Regions from separate parts of the Homo sapiens genome. Here region 1 is linked to region 2. The links are contacts of gene promoters, found by promoter capture Hi-C in human tissues and cell types (Jung and others, 2019). All regions are on one chromosome and are shown on one strand. Each heading gives the region's core, a stretch centred on a gene start or on the middle of the fragment in contact. The rest is flanking DNA. Distances are from core to core; before and after follow the strand shown.

The links. The method cuts DNA at HindIII sites, captures the fragments that hold promoters and counts their contacts. A contact is called where the count stands out against the background at its distance.
Region 1: a fragment that was not itself captured here is called in contact with the fragment with the promoter of UQCRB in region 2 in 1 of the 25 tissues and cell types used here (hippocampus).

The regions. Positions count from the first base shown.
Region 1 is chr8:94,431,442-94,437,211 of GRCh38, forward strand. The region is part of intron 3 of RAD54B (RAD54 homolog B); the gene reads right to left. FSBP (fibrinogen silencer binding protein) reads right to left here and starts at 5,503. Exons shown (of 2, transcript NM_001256141.2): 1 at 5,054-5,503; 2 at 1-1,215. The coding sequence starts at 5,427. The coding sequence ends at 690. RefSeq lists an enhancer at 3,359-3,859. The HindIII fragment of the contact is 5,994 bases long and covers 1-5,207 here.
Region 2 is chr8:96,231,647-96,237,668 of GRCh38, forward strand. It overlaps UQCRB (ubiquinol-cytochrome c reductase binding protein), which reads right to left and starts at 3,899. Exons shown (of 4, transcript NM_006294.5): 1 at 3,866-3,899; 2 at 1,510-1,581; 3 at 128-294. The coding sequence starts at 3,884. UQCRB-AS1 (UQCRB antisense RNA 1) reads left to right here and starts at 3,647. Exons shown (of 2, transcript NR_183275.1): 1 at 3,647-3,915. RefSeq lists an enhancer at 3,626-3,905. The HindIII fragment of the contact is 10,908 bases long and covers 1-6,022 here.

The DNA.
Region 1 (5,770 bases), core at 961-3,460, 1.8 Mb before region 2:
CTTCTAATATTTAAATCTAGAGAATGTTTTAGTGGATATTTACTTCTATCGAATAGCGGGATGGAAATTACACAAAGAAAAACTAAGTGCTGGTCTCTGCTCTGCCATAAATAGCTTTGTTACCCTAAGTAAGTCATTGAGTTCTCCCTGGACCTGTTTCATTACCCCTAAACTGCAGAGATGGAAAAAAAGTGTTCTCCAAATATCTTCCATCTCTAAAATCCTAGGATTTACTCCTTCAAAAGATAAAAGCATAAAAACCAATGTCATACAGACAAGCTTCTTGGTATTAGGTTAGTATAGCTCCTAAATTAGACTGACTTAAAAATCTCTAATTATAGCTTTCAAAGTTCTAACTAAAAATGTTGAAGACTCAGAACTTTGAAAGAATATGTGTTTGTATATGCATTTGTGTATATCTTAGTGATCAGAATAAAATATCTTTTGTAAGGTCAACAATTAAACTTAGGGAAAAAAAAAAGAAGACAATAAAAACTATAACCATGCCAACCAACCAGTAAATTTTAATATCTCAAAAGAAAATAATTAGAAAATTATATCTAAAAAGTTTTTCCATAATAGAGATTAACAACATTTTTCAAGAACGTGTATTCTGTTTCAGGATATTCCCAAATTAAAGTAATTTGGCCAAAATCAAAATTATCAAATTGCAAGATTGAAAAAAAAACTTAGAGACTGTTATATTCAGGTAGATCATGCCGTAAGCGAATTGCTTTCAGCTTCTCCACTTCAATTTTTGCTCTTAGTAGCTCTTCCTCTAGCTGCTGCCTTCTTTTCAATCCATCCCTCTTCTCCTGAACATACAATCCAAAATTTTTTTGATTTTCTAAAATTATCTGATGCTCCTCTTTCAACATTTGCAGGATCTGAGGATCATACCCTAATAGTGACCTAAAGTGTTCACCACTCTCATGCCGAAAAAAATCATCTCTCCTTGGAATAGAAGATGGAGACGATGTCATTCTCATATCAACAGAGGAAAGTGAAGGCGACAAGGATCTTTCCATAACATGTACTAATTCATGTTCTTCTCTTTGCTCTAAAGTATCACTCTGTTGAGAATTTAAAACCAGTGGAGGAGGTGGTTTAATGTCTTCTTCTTGCTTCACCTCCACTGTAATAGCAACAGGATGGTGATCCAACATTACCTGTAGTGAACTGGTACCAGCCTGTGCCTCCTCATCCAAGTTTGCACTATAGCACACAAAAAAGCATTATAATATGTAAATCAAATGAAGAAAAAGTGTATATTTATAGCATAATTTTAATTTAATGTACATTAAATGATAAAGCTTTAAAACTATAAAGTTACAAAATAAAAAAAAATCTTAAACACTTGAAATACATTAAAGTGACTAAGATTGGGATTTCAATAATACATACTCACAGATCTCCCCCATCCTTAACTTTAAAATTGTGCTTTAAAGGAGCAGGAAATTACAAATATTATAGAAGGCCAATGAAGAAAATAAAAAGAAAAGCCAGTTTTCATGTTGTCAAACAGACACCAATCTTTCCCACAACCCTAAGGTTTTCAAATGGTGTACAGAGCCATTTAATGCATTCTCAGTCTTGTTATCCCCATACCTTAGCCCTAGACCTCAGGCTTCTGCTCTCCTGGACTGATCTTAAAACCATGAAGGCCCATAACTTATAAAAGGACAGTGAAAGGCCATCTATGGGAGGTACTGATTTCTGCATTTGCCCAAAAAATAAAACATAAAGATTGTATATGGCTTTGGGATATGCTCAACTACTGGAGGTTATCCTAACTTTCTTATTTCAGATGCTTTTATCTGATAGGAAAAACTTCCGTTTTACCTATTCTGAACCATATGACTCAGATGCTGTTTAAGTCTTTCAATCACTGGTCAGGTAAAGTTCACAAGAGCAATGGTTTTAATCCACAACTGTATACTCAGTACCTAGCAGGTACTGTACTTAGAACCTAGTAGGTGCTCATTATGTGTTGAATGACTGAAAAAAAACAAACTAAATGATTTTTTAATGAAACATTTTTAATGGCCTATACAGATATATTAAAGGTTTATTAAATTTACACATAATTTCCACCAAATATGCATTCCCAATGGAGACAACTACAGCTTTAGCATAATTTAAGCTTCAGCATAACAAGTTATGATATTATAAATGCAATAAACCTTAAAATTCTGTTTTATAAACATAATTTTATGTATAACGTGAAGCTGTGAATTAAGAATATCTGCTCCTTGAGGTTGTTTTTTTTAATTTATGCTTCTGCCTAACTTAAAAATAAAAGTTATAAAGGGAAATTAGATCATTGAACATGAATGGAAATACTTTATTTAATATTATTTAGAGAAGATTTTACATATAATAAGAAACATAATTAAAAGAATACATTCTACATGGATGATTAAAATGCTGGAACAAGTTCAAGCAGAATGCATAGAAAAAGATTAAAACTACCCATACGTTACTTACTAATGCCATTAAATTGCCAGAAATATCAGATATTTATCTAAGAGACAAAATGAAACATATATAGTATATAATAAAAAATCTATTTGTAGGTTATATAAATTCATTTTTGTTCTTGTCTCTGTTTGTGTCATTTTATTATTTCCAAAAACAAAACAATTAATTATAAATGTAATTCAAAGTAGCAAGCTCTGCTTCTATTAATAGCTCTGCTAAAACCTGGAATGGGAAAAGGCTAAAATTGCATATGAAAATTAAGTTTTTAAAACCACATAATTACTATTTCAAATTAGTATGTAAAATAGAGAGTATAAACATAGACATAATACTACCAAGTAAATTAAAAATATGCCTCATATCTGGAACATTCCTTTCCATTTTAGCTAAAACATTACAACTAAGGCATAACAATATAAAAAGGGAGAAAAAAAGCTTTAGAGCAGGTCACAAAAATGACAGAGAAGGACTTGAGAATCAGAACTTTGAAGATCAGTTTACAAAAACACAAAATATAAACTGATATTAGGAAGAGGTAAAAATAAAGACATAAGTCAATGTGAGTTACAGAAAATAAATAGCCTTACAAAACAGGTATATATTTTTAAGTATGTTAACGCAAACACTAGTATTTTCCTTATTAAAAAGGAAGAGTTTGGTAAGATTAACAGGCATATTTATGTAGAAGTATAGTTAAGATTATAGAATAATTATAAACTTCTGAGATTATTAAGATTCAAGGATGATATCAATCAAATAAATATAAGCACATTAAATATATATATTAAAGAAATAAGCTAATACAGAGAAAATGTCAATGTAGACACAGTAACATAAGAATTTAAAAGGCATGTTTCTTATATTCTTCCCTTTAAAACCTAACAAATTGGTATTATTTAAGCCATAGGTATAGAAATGTACAAATCAACTCATTTTTATCAGAGAAATGTTCATATCCCAAAAGATTTTTTGTGTGTGAATATTGTAAATATTCACACACACAAATAGTCAAAATGTAACCAGATACTTGTATATTTATATATTATTTTTCTTCTACTCACTGTTATTTTTAAAATATGCAACTAACTAAAATTACAGTTTCTACATGTCGTTTTCAAATTATAAAAACCTATACCTACTAACCAAAGGGTACAGTTTTATACCTGCGATGCAAAAAACACTTTTCTCCATGGTTCAAGGGAGAGAAAATTCTGCATAAGTAGCACAGTATAAAACAATTTTACTGCGTAGTTTTCTGGATATCTAGCTATTGGGATTTCATCATTTGTCATCACAGTGAACATTTTAACCAGTGGCCCCAAGAATTAATCCACTGTGTATTCATGTCCTGGATTCCCACTGGTGATATTTTTTTTACTGTGCTATCAAGTAGAAATAAGCAGTATCTGGTAAGAAGCTAGGCTCAAAAATACTTTCCTAGTAAATTACCAAAATAACATATGCACTTGGCTACAAAGTGGTTTTTTTCTGCTTCTCTCCTAATTTCAAAGGGATTTCATAGTAATCAATAATTTGCTTATATAATGCCTCTTCCACCAATAGAAAAGCACATTGTGTAAAGCTTTGTTTGAAAGGCTCCTCAAACTAACAAGGAGTTTACAATTTGTTTAAATTACCCTAAATGGTTCAGAATAAGAATGTAGCTGCCATTTTTATATTTTGCCAGAGGTTACAATCTGAATTAGTGGCAAGATAATACTTTTGAAAATTCCAAGGCAAATAGTTACATAGAAGACAAGTTTAACCAAAAAATTGCTTCTAACTCTAAAAAAACCCAGTTGCTCTTAGGGGTATTTTAAAATTCATAATTTGATATCCTTGCAAAGCAGTAAGAGAAAGCTTACTCTTTCCTATACGACCCAAGATCAAAGTGAAACTAGACTATTAAGGAATAAAAACAACAACAACAAAAAACTTTTAATTTTATTAAGTAAACTGAATCCCTAATTAGGCATTAACTCCCTTTAGTTGTGTTCATCTTTATTTTAAACGTGTTAGAAAAATAATTTAAACTGTCTTCATATACACAATCATGCCATTAACAAGTTTACTTATTGATTTTGTTTATATTTGTTAGTTAACATATATTCAATAAGTGTAGACAATGACAATTCATAAAAAAGCAAGGTTCCATTTCTCTAGAAACTGCTAACTTTATATAAATTTTATATAAAATTGAAAATTCCAGTGAAATGTAATCTTAAATGAGAAAAAAAGTATCTCTCAGAAGCAAACTAAATAATTTAATTTTAAAGCTTAAGAAGTTTATGAAGTGATGTCACAAATTTCAACCCACTTATTCCTCCCTAACCTTTACTTTTAGAAACTACAGGAGGGAAGGGGGAGGGGAAGACAGTAAAAAGTAGCTTAAATGCAACAGAAAAATTCCTCATAGCCTCACTTTTCTCTTTTTAAAAAATGCAAAACAAAGACACTATTCATTGCTCCCGTTGTGGGGATGCTTACTATGCATATCTCTATCACGACTAAGCCAAAGCCCAATAGATAGGAGGCGCCATAATTTTCCATAACAAAACAAAATAAAGCTTACCTTTGTATGTGGTTCCTGTCTCTTACCAGGCAAAAACTGGAAATCTGGGGAATCATCTCCATAACTTTCTTGGTTGGCTCAGAAATATTGCTTTTAAAATCTGATTGGGTCTCTTTTTGCTGCAATAGCTCCTGTTTGGCATATTCTTTGAGCCTTTTATAAAGGGTGCGTAGGCCCTGTGCTGTTCGAGGAGGGCGGTCTACTCCAATTGCATTATAGTTAACTGCTATGATATCCCAACATCTATTCTTTTCTACTATTACTGAATGTTTATTAGTGTGTTCTTCGAGAATTTTCACATATGGCTTCACAAGCTTTAGCAAATCAAGCTTTTCGGATAAGGTAAAATTGGAAGATCTAGCCTTTCCTACCATTGTTCTTTTCAAATTAAGTAGGCAGTTTCTGAAACCACCATGCAGCCTTCAGCTCTGCTCAGCTCTTTTCACAAACAGAAAAAGATCAGGCTTAACTAGGCTAGCCTCATTTAGGCCCACGCCTACAGGGGAGGGTTTATTAAAATTCCTCCAGCTTAAGCTGACGCAGGTTCAGGAAATCTGCTTAAGCCAAGCCTGACCTACATAAAGCTTCTCACTGAAGAAGACAGGAAGGCACAAGCAAAACACACTTGTGTATAAAGGGAACAGCTCGAGACAGGATTTAATACACAAAGGTCTAGAGATAAGCATGGAACACAGCTAAAAATTAGCTAATTTAGTG
Region 2 (6,022 bases), core at 2,649-5,148:
ATTAACCTCACATATTTATTTGACATGACTCAGAGAACTCTAACACTATGCAAATGAACATGTTTCTCTTGTTTCTAAAACTCCATCCTTAATGAGCAACACTGTCAGGTAGATAAAGCTGTGCTACCTCTTCATATTTGGTCCACTGCTCTTTAGGCAAGATCTGATGCTTCAAGTTCAGGTCCAGTGCCCTCTTAATGCGAAACATCCTGTCATTATAAAGGTTCTCAGGAAGTCTTCTTATGGCTTCTTTTACATCTTCATCCTCGTATATTGTATCATCTCGCATTAACCCTATGATAGATGACAAAGTTAGATTGCACATGCATCTCAAAAATCGCGGTTTTTTTAAATTAGTAAAATACCTTTATGACTTATAACTTACAACTTTTGGTGAACTATCGAATTCAAATCACTAGGTTCAATGGAAATTCAATGCATTTCATACATTATAGGTTGGTGCAAAAGTAATTGCAGTTTTGCCATTAAAAGTAATGAGTTATTACTTGATATAATGGGTTACTTCTTGAACTAGACTATGGAAACAATATATGAGCCTCTTAAAATCCAATGCCACAAAATTCATATTTTATCTAAACCATTTACAAAATATTTTAAATGTTTACTTTGTTTTTAAACACACATTAATAAACCACATCTCTTTTTTCTCATAGTTTAAATCTGAGATCAAGGTATTAAAGAATCTTAAAATGATAGTATACTAAGGAACAGTGACTTTTGCTTACACTTTCTTCAAGCTTCAATAGTAAAAGATGAAGTTCATGGTAAATTACAAAGTTCTAAAAAAGCTTAGGAATCATATGATTGCATGGACGTGATAAAATTTTAATATTCAAAAACTCTCTACTTTCAATGTTTATATAATTTAAATTAAAATTTTAAGTGGAAGGCCGGGCGCAGTAGTGCACACCTATAATCCCAGCACTTTGGGAGGCCGAGGCAGGTGGATCACCTGAGGTCAGGAGTTTGCGACCAGCCTAATATGGTGAAACCCCGTCTCTACTACATACAAAAAAAATTAGCCAGGCGTGGTGGCACACGCCTGTAATCCCAGCTACTCAGGAGGCTGAGGCAGGAGAATCACTTGAACTCGGGAGGCGGAGGTTGCAGTGAACCGTGATTGCGCCACTGCACTCCAGCCTGGTGACAGAGCAAGACTCTGTCTCAAATAAATAAATAAATAAATAAATAAAATTTTAAGTGGAAGAGTTGGGAAAGGGGGTGTAGAAGGAAAATGTCTTACTACTTAAATCATTACCAAGTCGAACATTTTAGAGGCTTTCATCCCTCTTCTCTCAAAAAAACTTTAAAAAGGAACTGGATTTAACATAATGTGATTTAATTTTAAAATCTTCTGATGTATACAAGAACTGAAATGGTTTTTGGAACCACAGTAACACTTGCAAAAGCAATACTCTCAGAAAAACAAAAAAAAAAACAAAGAAACAACAACAACAACAAAAAACATTAAACAGCACAGCTGCTTACCCAGTTTATTGAATCCTGCAGCATTGTAATACCATTTTCGAATACCATCCAGCCACTTGCCTGATGCTGAAACTGATAATTGTCACACTGTTAATTGCTACAATTTAATTATACTATATGAACACATTGATAGGCAAGCAACCAGTACTCAGTTATCTTGCTGATGAATGCAAACATAGAAATAAATTTCCTTTTAAAAGTATATAGTATATACAGCAAGAATTTAATCAAAAGAATTAGATTTAAAAGAAAAAAGTTTATACTCTATAAAATGTTGATAAAAAGTGCTTATTTTATTTATGAGCAAAAGTGGTTGCAGGAAAATGGTGGCAAGTCATGAAAGAAAAGGGTAAACTCAAACACTGAATGTACAAAAGATCCATAGGTACATCGTGTGCCCTTATGCCTGCCCTGTTACCTTCAGAAATGAAGGGGTGGGAGATAGGAAAAGGACTTGGAAATTTCCATCATTTGTAGTTTCATAAATAGATCACAGGAAATAATTGTAAACTTTTCATTTCAAGAGAGCTGGAGTTGTAGGGAAAAGACAGTGAGATTTCAGCATAGACTGGCAGGTCTAAATGACCCTCATCCTCTAAAATTTTTACTCGATATTACAGTTATTTCATTTGGCCACATTCTTTAAAAATGTATGTATTTTGGGGAGGATTTTGATACCATTAGTCATTTAAACATTAATATGGATTCGTAAAAGAAGTCCATTTACCTCCTCCTAAGCAACTAAGTTCCCCCCAAGGGAATGGATATTGAAAAAGGATGAGAAATAGGTAATTTTAAAACTGTTTGGGGAACAGGGCTGAGCCTGATGAAGTAACCCAGCAGGGTCCAAGTACAGCAGGACCGTATCTGACATTTTAGGAGAGACATTTTACAAAAGGAGAGGTAGAACAGGTTTGTATTCTCTTTTAAAATTTTGTCTAGGGTTAGCCCTTACCAAGGAAGGAAAGCAAACTCTCCTTTCACTCAACTCTCCTTGCTTGCAAACTCAGTGCACTACAGATTACGTGGCTTTAGCAAATCTCCTTGGAAATTAAGAGTCATGTATAAAACTGCTGCTAGAAAAACAAGTATCAGTCAACAATCTACAAACATACTTGTGGAAGACAGATTATATTCAACCACCTATCAGTGACTATAATAATATTCACTAAGCACTTATTGTGCACCAAACACTTTCCTATTTGCTTTACCAACATTAGCTGATTTATTTACATGTCTGTTACTACAGAAGGGGAAGCTGGCTTACAGAAGTGATCCCACCCAAGGTCAGAGTTAGCTAATGGGAGTTGAGATCTGGTCTATGTAGTTCCCAAACACGCACAGAAGCAGTGTCTTGAATTTAGTAAGACTCCTTCAATATCTGCCAAATTAATAAAATAATTATTTAAAAAGTCTCCCCCACCCCCAAAAAGCTCAATGTCAATTAGGTTAACGGATGTTTCTGGCAACCTGATGTTTCCTAACAGCTTCACAATTGCTGGGGGCGGGGAGAAAAGGATCAACATTTTTTAAGCTACTCCAACTTGGTTGCATTGCAGTGAGACGAGATTGTGCCATTGCACTCCAGCCTGGGCGACAAAGCAAGACTCCGTCTCAAAGACAAAACAAACAAACAAACAAAACGGCTACTCCAACTTGTACCGCCAGAGGGCAGAGATTAGCAAAAAAAAAAAAAAAGAAAGAAAAAAGAAAAAAAGAACCTACAATAAATTCAAATTTCTCCAAACCTACTGATCAAGCTGACGCTCTAGATAATCCAAGGTCAACCTGAAGCGTCGCTCGTATCCCTTGCTCAACTGTCTCTGATTCGCAGTTTGAGAAGCGCGAGGGGTGCAATGATATTTCCAATTCTACTTCCTTGGGTCACTTTGCCTCAGTTATCTTATCAGCGTAAAAGGGAAATTAATATCTCCCTCGTCGCAATGGCAAGAAAATTTATAGGGCCAATGCACACGATAGAGCACTTGGGTCATAGAAAGCACTGAGCTCATTCGGGTTGAAAGTCATCCACTAGTTATCCTCTTGTGCCCTTTAACTTTTCTAAGGCCAAGGGGAAGGACTTCCAAGCACGGGCAGCTGGAACTCCAGGGCTGTCAGAGCCACCGCGGGCACCTTCACAAACAGCGGGTTAACATCCCAACCCTATACAGGCAAGCCCGCCCTGGGGACAGCAAACGAGTGGGGAAGCACATCCTTTTCACTGGACTGAAGCAGCCAATTTCCCTTCCGCGACAAACTTGGCCACTTACAAAGAAGAGAGAAAACGGAGCAAGCTGCAGCAAAAATAAACGGTGAAGCGCGACGATGCCGGCCAAGAAGACCCCCAGTTACTTACCGGCCTGCTTACCAGCCATTTTGACCAGAAAGAGAAGCGTTGCCTTCTGGGTAAGTCATAGAGGACAAGCTGGGCCCAGTCCGCAGGCGCGTTACGTCACATCGCGAACAGAGAAAGGCCGCTTGCGCAGGCGCAGTTCTGACGACTGCCGTTCAGCACCTGCGTAAGCACCTCTCGGCCAGGGTGAGGCCAATGGAGTAGGCGGGGCATTTTGCGTGCTACATTCTAAGAAGTATTGGTTGTGATGTGATGGGAAGAACACAGGTCAGGAATTAGGAGACCAAGGCTTAAAGCTGGGTTCTGTTATTTGCTGTTAATAGCTATGGGAGCGTGGACAGTATTAATTCAGCTCTTTGTGCCAGGCAGGAAGCTAAATGTTTTAAGGGCATCGTCTTACTTTCTATTGAAGGACTGATGGATGTGCCATCCCAAAAATATATGGAATTGGTACATTGATTATTTCGAGTTGAAAATATTGGAGAAATTGTAGTTTCAGAAAAGGTTTGATGACCTATCTCTTCCTGCATGCAGCAAGCCATAAAGCTTCCTCCAGGATTCCTCTGGAGTACCCGTCCCTTACCAGAGGGAGAAAATAGCACCTATCACCAGAGACGAAACTGGGGGCTGCTTTGGACCTGAATATACTTTCCGAAGTAACCGTTATCTTCCACTAAGTTTACACCCCAACACACACACTTTTCTCCTAATGACTCCGCGAGAAATTTACTGCCCCTAGCCAGATCCCCTTTCTTCTGATTTGTAGTTCGTGTAAAAAGTATAAAGGCATCTTACATTGGCCACTTCACTCTTTTGTGCGGATCCCCATGTACATGTAAAACTAGTAAAATTAGTATGCTTTTCTCTTGTTAATCTGCCATGTGTCAATTTGGTTCCTAGATTCAACCAAAGAGCCCACATAAGAGCAAAGGGGAGGGAGGGTTGGAGGTGATCTCTCACTCCCCTAAACTATCTTTTAATTCTAAAAGTACTGTAATTATCTCATTGTAGAGAGGAGAAAGCTGAGGCTCAGAAAGGTTGAATAACTTGTCCAAGAGCACATGACTAGAAGAGTCCAGGTTCTTCTTCCAGAATCTGAAAATCCAGATGCAAATTTGGGGCTCCTTAATTCTAGGGTCATATGCTATACTGCTACACTACTAATCCAGGAAAGACACCAAGCCTTTCAGGCCTTGGGTTTCTCCAGCTGAAGATCTATATCTAGCTATTTTAGTGGAAGGTTAGGTCAGAAAAGGTTTTGGGTTTTTTTTGTTTGTTTTTTTTCACCCTTTTTTTTGTTGTTCAGCCTCTGTCACCCAGGCTGAATGGCACAATCTCGGCTCACTGCAACCTCTGCCTCCTGGGTTCAAATGACTCGTGCCTCAGCCTCCTGAGTAGCTGGGACTACAGGTGTACACACTACCATGCCCGCTAATTTTTGTATTTTTAGTAGAGACGGGGTTTCACCGTGTTGGCCAGGCTGGTATCAAACTCTTGACCTCAAGTGATCCACCCACGTCAGCCTCCCAAAATGCTGGGTTACCCGCGTGAGCCATCATGCCCAGCAGAAAAGGTTTTTAAAGATTAAATCTAAGATGTATTGCAGAATTTGCACACAATTTTAAGACAAAAGAGAAGTATATAGATTTTCTCACTTTTAAGGTCTCAACCCCAACATGCGAAGTCTTAGGCATAAACATCTAGAGACAGAAAACAATTAGGGGGAGCTAGCATGACTGATAGTTACTGGTGAACTTCTACCATTACTCAGTGATATCTTTTTTTTCCCCTCAGTTTTAAGCTCAGAGCTGGGACAATATAGAGTAGAACCTTGTCTCATCCTAAGTTCAAAAGGTTAGATTTAACGATCTTAGTCACATTCCAGTTCTAAAATTATATTGATTTTCCTTTTTCTTCTATCTCCATGCTGTCACAATTTCTTCATTAGTCAGTCCTGTATACAGCACTAAAGCTGATGAATGATCTATCTTACACTAGCCAAAGTGAAGTCTGAAAGATGTGAAGAAATGCAGTACATTTGTACATTGGCACATTGCCCTGCAGAGGGTAGGTACTCAATAAACTCTCCTCCCTTCCACCCTTTAAGTTTTAGCTTGCTGGTTACAGGTGAAGGTGGCAAGAAAAGACATATCAAAAGAT